Regions from separate parts of the Homo sapiens genome. Here region 2 is linked to region 1. Evidence: promoter capture Hi-C in human tissues and cell types (Jung and others, 2019). All regions are on one chromosome and are shown on one strand. The core of a region is centred on a gene start or on the middle of the fragment in contact, and the rest is flanking DNA. Distances in the headings are between cores, read along the strand shown. Region 1 holds the start of RUNX2 (RUNX family transcription factor 2). Region 2 overlaps SUPT3H (SPT3 homolog, SAGA and STAGA complex component).

Region 1 (6,271 bases), core at 1,117-3,616:
CTAGAATTTGATAGGCCTCACAGAGGACAAAAAGTGCATATATAACAATATCTACTAAACTCTCAAATCCTGGTCCAAAAATTACATGCAGGAGGATTACCTGCAAAAAGTGAACAGGTAATTAAATGACAAATAGATGTTAAAAATTACTTAAATTCTTATCAGGTCAATTTGAAGAGCCAAAGTTTACATAAAGAAGATTTTAAGGAAGAAAATAGCAAAATGTTGGGTTTGTAAGATGTTTCAGTGAATGCTAATGTAGAAACTATAAGCTTATTTGAAAAGAAGAAAACCATTTGCTGATCATACTACAGCAGCTACCTACATATTTTCAATTAAGTGATTCTGCTATTATAGGTACACATGAAACCATGTTTGGAAATCCCACAAGCTATAAGGACAAAACCCTCCTTTTGTTTACTTTGGATACTAATTAGAGATACAGATAATATGGATACGACTTATTTATAAAAGAGAAAAAATAATTTTTCTCTCCTTCACATGAATAACTGCATGTTAAATGAACGCTTTTACCTTTCAATGTAAAATCTGTTTACACATACAATAAGGCATGATAAATCCATAGTTAAAATAAAACACCAAAATGTATTTCTGGTTTTTTATCACTAAAAGTTTATTCTGAAAAGGTTCTGGACATTTGAAAAATAAAGGACTAGAATCATTCCCATACCCTACCAGTGTATTTTGGGAAAATCAAATTTTCTGTAAAGAAACTTATGAACATATTTGTACAGTTATTGTGATCTAATATGAACCAAAAGCAGATAATGAATAGCACTAGGAAGAACACAGGGATATTTTAGTTCTAACACCCTCCTGTCTCCCTAGCCCTTACCTCCCTGCACATTCCAAATAATCTTTTGTAATTCACTGTCTCCGCCCACCCCATTTACTTTATGCCACTCCTAGTTACTGTCACACTAGGAAGAAGTCTAACATGCAGATTTAGAGTGGCATGGATAAATGGCAAAAAAATGCCTAGAAAATTGGTCTGTTCGCCTTTATAATTTTGGTTGAAAAATACTCCATCGCTCCCAACTGATGAAAACAGGAAGCTCTATTCATAAATATAAAATTCACTGCCTATGATATATAATCATCCTAATAAGAAAATGAGTTCTATACATACTTGTCCAAAGGGGCAAAAAAGGAGATAGTTTCCCAAAGATGTTTCCAATTTTCTTCTGAATCAGAATTAGCAAATCGAGACGACTAACATACTCTGTCTGTGGGCATTATTCCTTACTACACACAGCATTTTGTAATTTATTTCAAAGCTTCCATTAGAAACAAAAAAATACATAGCTTCTGTTAACCCACTCTATTCTAAGCTCATAGAATCAAATACTGAACAATCTACATTATAACATAAGCATTTTACTTTATAGAAGATCTGCTATCAGAAACTCTATTAATGTCTAAACTACTTAAAGAACTATATAAACTGAATACACTTCAATGAAAGACAAAAAATATTACAATCATAAAGAAAACTAAGATTCATCCAATAAACTATATTACAATCCCTGTCATTCATTTTTTTAAGATCTTCAAACTAGGCATGAGATAATGGTATACATGAAACATTACATTTAATCTTTATTGTAAAGGCCGCCATCTAATAGATTGATAATAAACTAGACAGACGTGATTTAAAATTTGTAAAAGAATGCCCAGACTAACACTTTCATGACAGCCAATTATAGTCAAGCCTAGCAAGCAGTTTGCAACCAGACCTTAAGGTAAACTTTTTTTTTTTTTACAATGAGTTACAGATTCACAAGTTTAAGAAGACAAGAAAAAGGAAAACAGAAGGAATCCAGCCACCCAGCAAATATGAAGCAGACCCCAGAATGTGATACAGTCCAAAGATGTGAATTATTGTATATCATCACTGTTGTTCAGAATTTCACACAGACTCTTGAGCCAATTTTGTTCATTTTTCCACAGACACAATAATGAACTAAAAAGAGGAGGCAAAAAGGCAGAGGTTGAGCGGGGAGTAGAAAGGAAAGCCCTTAACTGCAGAGCTCTGCTCTACAAATGCTTAACCTTACAGGAGTTTGGGCTCCTTCAGCATTTGTATTCTATCCAAATCCTCATGAGTCACAAAAATTAAAAAGCTATATCCTTCTGGATGCCAGGAAAGGCCTTACCACAAGCCTTTTGTGAGAGAAAGAGAGAGAGAGAAAGAGCAAGGGGGAAAAGCCACAGTGGTAGGCAGTCCCACTTTACTTAAGAGTACTGTGAGGTCACAAACCACATGATTCTGCCTCTCCAGTAATAGTGCTTGCAAAAAAAAGGAGTTTTAAAGCTTTTGCTTTTTTGGATTGTGTGAATGCTTCATTCGCCTCACAAACAACCACAGAACCACAAGTGCGGTGCAAACTTTCTCCAGGAGGACAGCAAGAAGTCTCTGGTTTTTAAATGGTTAATCTCCGCAGGTCACTACCAGCCACCGAGACCAACAGAGTCAGTGAGTGCTCTCTAACCACAGTCTATGCAGTAATAGTAGGTCCTTCAAATATTTGCTCATTCTCTTTTTGTTTTGTTTCTTTGCTTTTCACATGTTACCAGCTACATAATTTCTTGACAGAAAAAAATAAATATAAAGTCTATGTACTCCAGGCATACTGTAAAACTAAAACAAGGTTTGGGTATGGTTTGTATTTTCAGTTTAAGGCTGCAAGCAGTATTTACAACAGAGGGTACAAGTTCTATCTGAAAAAAAAAGGAGGGACTATGGCATCAAACAGCCTCTTCAGCACAGTGACACCATGTCAGCAAAACTTCTTTTGGGGTAAGTGTTACCATTTTTAAAATCCTGTAAGATATGAACCTGTTAAACATAAAGGTATGATTCTTTGATAAACTGCTAGCTTTTCCAAATAGCATATTAAAGATCCTAATTATGCTATCTTGTTGCATTAAGAATTGAAAAATGAAATTTCTGTATATATTTGCATTTGGTATCTGTAATGTATCTAATTTTCAAAGTAATGACTTGAAATATACAAAATTAAATTATCTCACATTGATCAAAATGTTTTCTAGAGTTATAGAGGTGAGGATATGAAAACAGTAAAAGAAACAGTTTAATACTCTCATTAACCCTCACCAGAAGAAAAGTCAGATCCTAAATTAATCAAAGCATTATAAATTATTGACTCCGGCAGCTCCCAATATTTGAGCAAACTTCAAAAAGGAAGCAATTTTACAAAATAACAGACCACAGAATTATCTCAACATTATGGTCTACCATGTATAACACAGAAATAAACCTGTAGTACAGTTAACATTTTAACCAGCTCAACTAAAAGAAATCTACTTATAAATTCAAACTGTATCCTATCTAAATAAGTTTGTTTCTAAACAACTTTATATAAGTATACATTCAGCTGAAATAAAATTATGATAAGCACATCACAGCCATTTTTAAAAGATCTTTATAGTTGCCCAGGATATTAAAAAGTTCATGGAAGTATTTTAAAACTTACATGCAACTGCATTTTTCTATGTAATTTTAATTTTACATCTACACACTGTTATCCATAGACCTTGTTATAAACACACTGAAACACTGAAACGTCTAAGATTCTTTTAATCACATTCTTGGACCTACCAAAATGAATAACTGCTGTTTAGTCTCATGAAAAATAAAGCTCCATAAGGATACCCTGTATGATTTTTAAAAGCCACAACTATTAAACCATGCTGGACTTTAAAAGAAGTAGGCATAATCTTGTCCCTTAATATTTAATTTCAAGTTACTGTTGATACAGATATGTAAATGACTTTAACATTCATCAGCTGATGTGTTATTATAGCAAAATATCTAAACACACTTACAAGATTCTCTTTATGATCTCCAACATGTTCCAACTACAAGGCAAGTTTTCAAAAATTTTTCTTATATCCATTAAAATAAACCTTCTTGCTGTGTACATCTATATTAACTCTGCTTTTAACTTACAACTAATGACTGGAGTTTCCTTTACTCCTCCTACTTCACACATTTTAACTGGATACTACTAGAGGATCAGTCTCAGTTTAGGTCAAACAGAAATAATTAAACCTGAAGGGAGAAAAAATGGTTTCTCTTACAGGGTGAGGAAATGTACTTTGTATTTTACAAAAAAAAATGTAAAATTGCTTTAGTGACTCCCTCAATAGCTGTAAGTGGGCCCCCTCAGTTATAATATATACAATATAATAATCACAGATTAATTTAAAATTTTAATGATGGGTACCAAGTATTACTCTAAAAACTTCTATATTAAGGAAGCAGGACATAAACACAGCTAGACTACATTACAACACATAGCATAATTACAGCTTATACATCGAAAGTTTTGTTACTACTACCCAAGAGATAAAAGGAAAAAGAATAGTTAAAACTACTGTTACACAGAGGGATAACTTGAAACAGGGATAACAGAGATATCAGGGAGGGATAACAGAGGCAGTTAAGTTACTCTTTCACGTTATCACTCTGTTTAACTATTTATTTTAAACACATTTTAAAAACCAGATCAGGAACAACACAAGTTTCAAAAAATTCTTCAGTATTAGAAGTAAAGTTATCATGAAGAATATGTTAAAATTCTCACAAAGAATATATTAAACTGCTTCTTATTCTATCATAACAGGGATCTTATACTTCTGTAACATTCTTAATAACTATTCAAAATTTCCAAAACTTGACAGGATTCTAAGCAAGGCATGGTAGTGAACCTTTTTTTTTTCCAACATTACAACCAGTTCTTCCTCTTTTGAAAAGTGGGCTGCACCTTCCCTCCCCGCCAGCCCCCAAACAGTATCTTGAAGCCTGAATAGAGAACTTAACATCAACCCACTACCTCAGACTAATTACAGGTGAGTAGTGGACATCATGTATATGTTATCACATTGCAAACATTTCCCCATTCTATAATCTATGCAAAGCCTAAAACCTCACTTCAGGCTTTAGATTTTTATATAATGATTATCACCACCACCTAATGAAATGTCTTAAGTATGTGCCCCAATTTTGTAAAATAGTTAAAAAGAAAGTTTAGGATTTTCCTAGGTGAGGTACAAAGCACACATTAACAACTGCTTCACCTCAAATACAATGAGTGGTGTGTGTGTGTGTGTGTGTGTGCGCGCGCGCGCGCACATGCTAGAGAAAGAGTATGTCTGTGTCCTTGATCTCTCAGCATACTTCACTTTGAGTTAATCAAAAATTTTCAATCTGTACTACTCAAAATCTGTCCATCATTTATCATAAATATAGCTTGCTGAAAATCACAGATGTGACTCATAGAGTATCTTAAAATTAATGACTCATGAAAATATATCAGCTGACTGATTATCTACATAAAATCTTTGTAACTGCTTGAACATGATGTGTGAACACTGATTTCCAAAACAGCAATTGTGGTCCATATCAATAATATATTTATAGTTTCAAGATTCAGTAGTGACAAAGTTTTATAGCTTCTTTTTAAAATACAGAGCTAAATTCCAAAACTAGGGAGCAGAATTACAAAGTTAAGAACAAACACAGAAAATCACTCTAACACATATCAAAAGCTAAAAATGTCAAAGTAATTCCCAAAGACTCATATAAATTATTTTAAATTATAATAATCCTAATTTTACATTACAAACTGTTAAAGATTTTTAGTTTTTATTTTTAAAAAATGTTTTGAAATCTAAAACACTGAAAAGAAATTGTGGAAAAAGATCTGGCTGGTCTGTCTGACTCTCCTGATCAATCCGTCTCTATATCACAAGGCATGAAATATACATGATTACATTATGATATATTTTAGTTATCTTAAAAGAACAAAATATTAATTTATTCAATTACTCTCTTCCAGCTAACAACTGATAGTTTGACTTGTTTAAATCAGTCATGCTAAAGTTAAATTCGGTAAGATAGAAATGTTCCAGTTTGTTAAAAGAACACTGAAATATTTGATGGTTAAATAAACTGCAGGGGCGGGGGGAGCTAACTCATTGAAGGCACTAAGATTTTATCAAACACACAGAATTAATATTTATTGAATAGAACCATTCACAAATCAAAACTCACTGTACTCCAATACTTTAAAGCAGCGCTAATCAATTACAAACCTTTTCTAGTGCTTCAAAATTCATGTGCTTTCAATTTTACACACTGGTGGTCCTCAAGTACTGTACTGAGGCTGAGTTAAGACATTCTGTATCACAACTTTTTTTTTCAACAAATATTCATCTAGAGGGC
Region 2 (6,674 bases), core at 701-3,200, 82 kb before region 1:
AAAGATAAAACCTATTAGCCACACCTTATTTATATCCTTAATAATAATTTCATTATTCATCTCATTTTTAAATCATTATTTTTCCCAAATAGCTTTAGGAAAATTTTCCAATCTTATGCTCTCCTTCATTATTTAAATCTTACACAAAACAGTACTCTTGTATAAGTGAACATTTTAAACAAACAACCCCACTACCTTTTCCTGAAAACTGGTGCTGTCCACACAATACTAAATTCTTCCTGGTTAATACCTTCTACACTAATTTTACCCAATTTTCTTGCCTATCATCTCTACCTGTTTAACACTGTTTAGAGTTTAATTGCATGTAATTTTCTAACTCATTACCTGTTGCTATTACACCTCAGTAAACTTCTATCTCTTCCACACCCAACATTCTCTTTCACATTAACCTAATTCCTACTTCCCTATCTTCTAAAATACACATGTTCATTCCCTTCTCCATTCCAATATTTCAGCACTTTTCATTCTGAGGGTTAAATTTCTTGAGAATAAAGTTTTCTATGTGCTTATAATATAGATGTCTTATAAATCTATACTAAATAAATGAAAAATCTTATTATTTGAGCTGCAATTTGACATAATAAATACAACCAGTTACTAAATATCTATGAATGCACCTAAAATTCCCATTTCATTATTTACAAACTCTTCCACAGTAAAACTAGCTTTACCTTCGAGCATTAAAAGATTTTGTAAAAATCATTTTTTAAGATTGGTAATGCTTTGATTGGTAAGATCATAAATATTTTCTACAAGTTTTTCATTGCAAATGTGTAGTATTTCAGATATTTCACATGTTTTTTCAAGAATATCTATTTTGGTTAATCTGGGAATTTAAGTCCCTAAATAATACCATTACCAAGGTAATGTGTATTCTGAGTTCCAAACAATTAAAATACAAGTGAACTTTTCTTTGTGTGGTAAAATATTCATAACATAAAATTTACTATTGTAACCATTCTTAAGGTTAAAATTCAGTGACATTAAGTACATTCACATTATTGAGCAAACATCACCACTATCCATAACCAGAAATTTTCTATCATACCAAGCTGAAACTCCACACCTATTAATCAAAAGCTCCAAATTCCCCCTCCTCTAGCGCCTGGTAATCTACTTTCTGTCACTATGAATTTGACCATTCTAGGTACCTCATATAAGTGGAATCGCATAACATTTGTCCTTTTAGGTCTGCTTTATTTCACTTAGCCTAATGTTTTCTAAAATTATCCATGACGCAAGAAGTTCAAAATTTAATTCCTTTGTAAAACTAAATAATATTCCATTTCATGTAGGTACCACATTTTTTTATCCATTCATCCACTGATGGACATGTTGGTTGTTTCCACCTTTTGGATATTGTGAATAATGCTGCTACAAACACTGGTGTACCAATATCCATTTGATACTCTGCTTTCAATTCTTTTGGGTATATAACCAGAAATACAATAGCTGGATCATGTGGTAATTCTGTTTAATTTTTGAAGAACCACTATACCATTTTTCACAGCAGTTCAACAATTTTAAATTCCTACCAGCCATGCAGAAGTGTTCTAATTTGTCCATATCCTTGCCAACACTGTTTTTTTAATAAATAGCCTTTCTAATGGGTATGAAATGGTAACTCATTGTGGTTTTGATTTGCATTTGTCTAAGGACTGGTAATATAGAGCATATTTTCATATTCTAATTGGCCACCTGTATATTTTCTTTGGAGAATGTTTATTCAACATTTTTGCCCATTTTTTAATTGGGTTGTTTGGGAGTTTTTCTGTTGAGTTTTGGGAGTTCTTTATGTATTCTGGATATTAACCCCTTATCAGACATATGATTTAGAAATATTTTCCCATTCTGTGGATTTCCTTTTCACTCTCTTGACAGCGTCCTTTGATGCACAAAACTTTTAAATTTTAATGATGTCTAATTTTTTATTTTTCTTTCGTTACCTGTGTTTTTAGTATAATATCCAAGAAATCACTGCCAAATTCAATGTCTTGAAGCTTCTTCACTATGTTTCCTTTAAGAGTTTTACAGATTGAGCTCTTACATTCAGGTCTTTTATCAACACAGGTGAACTTTTAACCATCATCGTAACAGGAAGTAGAGTGCAACTTTGCACTAAGTTAAAATTATCAGTCCCATGGTTTGTTTTCTCCAAATTATGAAAAGCATTTGCTCTTAAGAATCAATATTTAACTCCTACTAGCATGTAAAAAATAGAAAGTAATGCAGATTCAAAATAGGAAAATAAGACGCTATTACTTCTTACAAAGTATGTTCTCTGACCATAAATAACCTAGAAATCAACAAAAGGAAGGTACCTGTGAAATCCCCCAAGTAATCAGAAATTGTAAAACACGTATCTAAGCAATTCACGGGTCAAGGCAGATGTCTTAAGGGGATTTACACATATTTTTAACTAAATGAAAATGTAAATACAACATATCAAAATTTGTAAGATACACCTAATGCAGTGCTAAGAGGAAAACTTACAGCATTAATTACACATATTAGAAAAGAAGGTCTTAAGTCAATAACCAAACCTTCCCTCTTAAGAAACTAAAAAGATAAGAAGTAATCCTAGAGTAAGCAGAAGGAAAGATATAATTGAGACAGAAATCAATGATATTGAAAACAGAGTAAAATCAATAAAAGTAGAAACTTTAAAATTGATAATTTTCCAGCCAGTCCAAGCACAAAGTACAAGAAGAGCTATCCCAATGGATCCCACAGATGCTAAAAGGATAATAAAGGAATACTATAAGCAAATCTCTGATAATAACGTTGACGAATTAAAAGAAATTGATGATTTCCTTGAAACATACAAACTACCAAAATTCACTGAAGTAGAAAGAGACAACTGGAATAGCCCTATATTTTTCAGGAAAGAGTTGAGCAGCCCTTCTGCTATCTTTTGGGGAGCCTGACTGCAGAGCTGGCCTTCAGCTGGCATGTAAAAACTTGGCCTTTGGGGTGTTCCCATGTAACATGGTTATTTTGCCTGTTTTGGGCACAAAACCCTGACATACCAGCTTAATCTAGGTCTTTTGTAGAAACACTGTGATTTATTATAAAGACCTGTTCTCTTTCTTGGAGTCAAGTATTTTACTAGTTATGGCTAGTCATGCAGGTACCATGTGCCTACATGACCAACCCTTAATAAAAAAACTCTTAAGTCTTAAGGGGGCTTTCTAGATAGAAACAATGCACATGCATTACTACAATTCACTGCTGGAAGAAGTGTGTTCTTTGTGCCTACCACTCTCAATAGGGAGAACTTTGGAAGCTTAAATCTAGATGCCTCCAGACTCTACTGGATTCTTTTTCCATTTTTTTTTTTTTTGTAGACATAGAAACCCAATTCTAACTTTCATACAAAAAAGGTAAGAAAACAAGAACTAGAGCCAAAAATGTTGAAAAAGAAGAACAAAAAGAATTCACTCTAAGACATTTTCTGACTTATTACAAAGCTACAGTCATCAAGACAGTGTGGTAATGGAGAAATGTTAGACTCAAAAATCAGTGGAACAGAATAGAAGGTGCAGAAATAAACCCAAAGAAATATAGTCAATTGACTGTTCACAAGGATGCAAAGTAATTCATTGGAGAAATGACAGACTTACTTGTCAACAAATAGTGCTAGAATAACAGGACACCCATATGCAGAAAAAATGAATATTGACCCATACTTTACAACTTATACAAATGTAATTCAAAATGAATCACAGACTTAAATATAAAACAGAAAAAAACCTATACAAAAAAACTACGAATCACTTAGAGAAAAAACTGAAGAAAATCTTTGTGACATTTGTTTATGTACAGAGTTCCTAGATATAATACCAAAACCATGATATATAAAAGAAAAAATGACCAATTGAATTTCATAAAAATTAAAAGCTTTTGCTCTGCCAAAGATGCTGTTGGAAAAATGAAAAGCTACATATTTCCATGGGAGAAAATATTTCAAATTACATATGAGACAAAGGACTTCTAAAGGACTGGTATCCAGAATGTATAAAAAGCTCTCCAAATAAAAAAAATAAGAAAAATTATCCAGTAAATAAAAAAGGAAAATGCTGAGCAGATACTTCACCAAGGAAGGTTTACAGATAGCAAATAAGCCATCAACATCATTAGTCACTAGGAAATGCAAAAGAAAATCATAGTATGACACATCTTCACACCTATTAGAATGGCTAAATCAAAAAAAGAGAAAAAACTGGCAATGCGAAGTGCCAAAGAGGATGTGGAAGAATTAGAACTCTCATACATTGGTCAGGCGTGGCTCTTGCCTGTAATCCCAGCACTTTGGGAGGCCAAGGTGGATAGATCACGAGGTCAGGAGATCGAGACCACCCTGGTCAACATGGTGAAACCCAGTCTCTACTAAAATACAAAAGATTAGCTGGGCATGGTGGAGCGCACCTGTAGTCCCAGCTACTTGGGAGGCTGAGGCAGGGGAATCACTTGAACCCAAGAGGCGGAGGTTGCAGTGAGCTGAAATCACGCCACTGCACTCCAGCCTGGTGACAGAGCAAGACTCCATCTCAAAAAAAAAAAAAAAGAACTCTCATACATTACTGATGGCAATGCGAAATACAAAGGACACTCTGGAAAAAAATTTGGCAGTTTCTAACAAAATTAAGTATATACGTACCATGCAATCTGGGAATTCTACTCCCAGGAATTTACCACTTAGAAACCACGTGATATCGTTTCTAAACTTTTTTAGCAACAAAAAAAGGAGTTGAAGAATAGCAGTTATTCTTTCCCAGATATAAGAATATTTCATTTAAATAGTTTCCTGACTAATATTCATATGTTAATCTTCCCTCATTTTCTGATTTACTATTTCATTCAGAGATTTACTTAGCATTATTCTTTTATTTTGCTTATAGTTTCTCTGTATTGCATTTTATTGTCTATCATGTAGATAAAACTGTAAGCAAACATTACATGCTCTAACTTAAGAAGGAAATAGTATATCTAGTCAAATGACATTTAACTCTTCTCTGTACTAAAAAGGCAAAATTACTAGTCTTTTTATTTTAGTAAAAATTCTAAAGGAATACAAACAACAGACACACAAAAAAAAAAAGGGAAAGGAAGACAGCACACAAAAAATGTTAATAGCATTTTGGAAGCTAGAAAGCACACCCGATGAAATAGAAACCTAAGCCCAGGGGGATTAACTCAGCAACAATCAAGAAGCTGTATGCCACAGAACTCTGACAAAGTTCGGGACCTGAAGGCAGGGATCCACGGTGGCACTGACAACCAAAACACATTGTAAATTGTTAAAGGAAACAGAACTCCAAATCCCTTTTCCAACCTCACTCAAGCCATGCCACTATTCCTTCACCACTCCTGCAAAACACTGAAGCTTTCATCTTTGGGGAAGTTACACCAGAGAAACGCTGTGTTTGTGAACAACACATCTGTGGGGGGGTGGGGGCCAAGGGGAAAGGGTTGATGATATATCATACTGAAAAGAAAAATCTACATACCAATTTATGAGAAAACACCCTCAAACCTTATACCAGATCCCTTCTGCTCAGCTGCAAAAGTATTTACAACCAGGCTTATAAACCCTAGACAAAAGACTAAAAGGTTCCTGTTTGGAGAAATGTTCAGTCTAAGAGAAACAAAATCTACAGTTAATTCTATCACTGAGGAATCCTGCACAAAAAAACAGCCAGATCTCTACCTGGTCATCCTACAATAAAGGTCTACCTCAAATACATTTTGATGCCTCGGTCTTAAGTATGAACAGGCATCAAAAATCACCAAAGAATAAGGAAAAGCCTCTGACATGAAAGATGGTGAGCAAAACAAAAAGGATAAAAAGGAAATCAGAAGCAGCAGAAAAATAAAGGGAGTAAAAGAAAACTTCATGCAATCATGACAAATATCTAAGGCAGACAGAATCTTACATCTATGAAAAGACCCCAGAGGCTTTTCTTTCAATGAAAAAAAAATGTAAAAGAAACATTAAGGCAATAAAAAAATAAAACAATAAAAAATAAAACAAAGACAATAAAAAAAGCTCTTACAAATTAAAATTTTGACTAGAAGAATAAAAAACTGTTAAAATTTTCCAGATAAAGTTGAGAATAATCTCCTAGAAAGTAAAACAAAAAAGTAACAAATGGAAAACAGGATAGAAAAGAAAGCTGAAGGACCACTTCAAGAAAACCAATAGCTGAATAACAGCAATTCCGGAAAGCTGAAAGATGGAAAAACAGAGGAAACAGGAGAAAAAAATTATCAAAGAAATAATTCAAAAAAATTTCCAAGAACTGAAAGATAACTATATCTAGCAAATTGATGGAAAAAACACCCATCTCACAGCACAGTATCACAAAATTTCAGAACACAACAGAAAAAAAGATCCTAAAAGCATCAAGTAAGGGGAAAAAAGGGTTTATAGAAAAGCTCATGGATCAGAAGGGCATAAGACTGCCTTTTTTTTTTTCTTTTGAGACAGAGTCTTGCTCAGTCACCCAGGCTGGAATACAGTAGTGCTATCATAGTTCACTGCAGCTTTGAACTCCTGGGCTCAAGCAAGTAGCTGGGACTACACATGAGTACTACCACACCAGCTATTTTTATTTTTTCATTTTTAGTAGAGACAGGGTTCTCGCTAAGTT

The links. Contacts are between HindIII fragments. The study calls those that stand out against the background at their distance.
Region 2: a fragment that was not itself captured here is called in contact with the fragment with the promoter of RUNX2 in region 1 in 2 of the 25 tissues and cell types used here (mesenchymal stem cells and spleen).

The regions. Positions count from the first base shown.
Region 1 is chr6:45,325,964-45,332,234 of GRCh38, forward strand. RUNX2 (RUNX family transcription factor 2) reads left to right here and starts at 2,367. Exons shown (of 9, transcript NM_001024630.4): 1 at 2,367-2,497; 2 at 2,698-2,821. The coding sequence starts at 2,764. The region is part of intron 2 of SUPT3H (SPT3 homolog, SAGA and STAGA complex component); the gene reads right to left. RefSeq lists a cis regulatory region at 1,085-1,091, a promoter at 2,049-2,689 and an enhancer at 2,096-2,136. The HindIII fragment of the contact is 4,056 bases long and covers 786-4,841 here.
Region 2 is chr6:45,244,341-45,251,014 of GRCh38, forward strand. The region is part of intron 2 of SUPT3H (SPT3 homolog, SAGA and STAGA complex component); the gene reads right to left. Among named protein-coding and RNA genes, the nearest start is that of MIR586, 50 kb to the left of the region's middle. The HindIII fragment of the contact is 3,328 bases long and covers 287-3,614 here.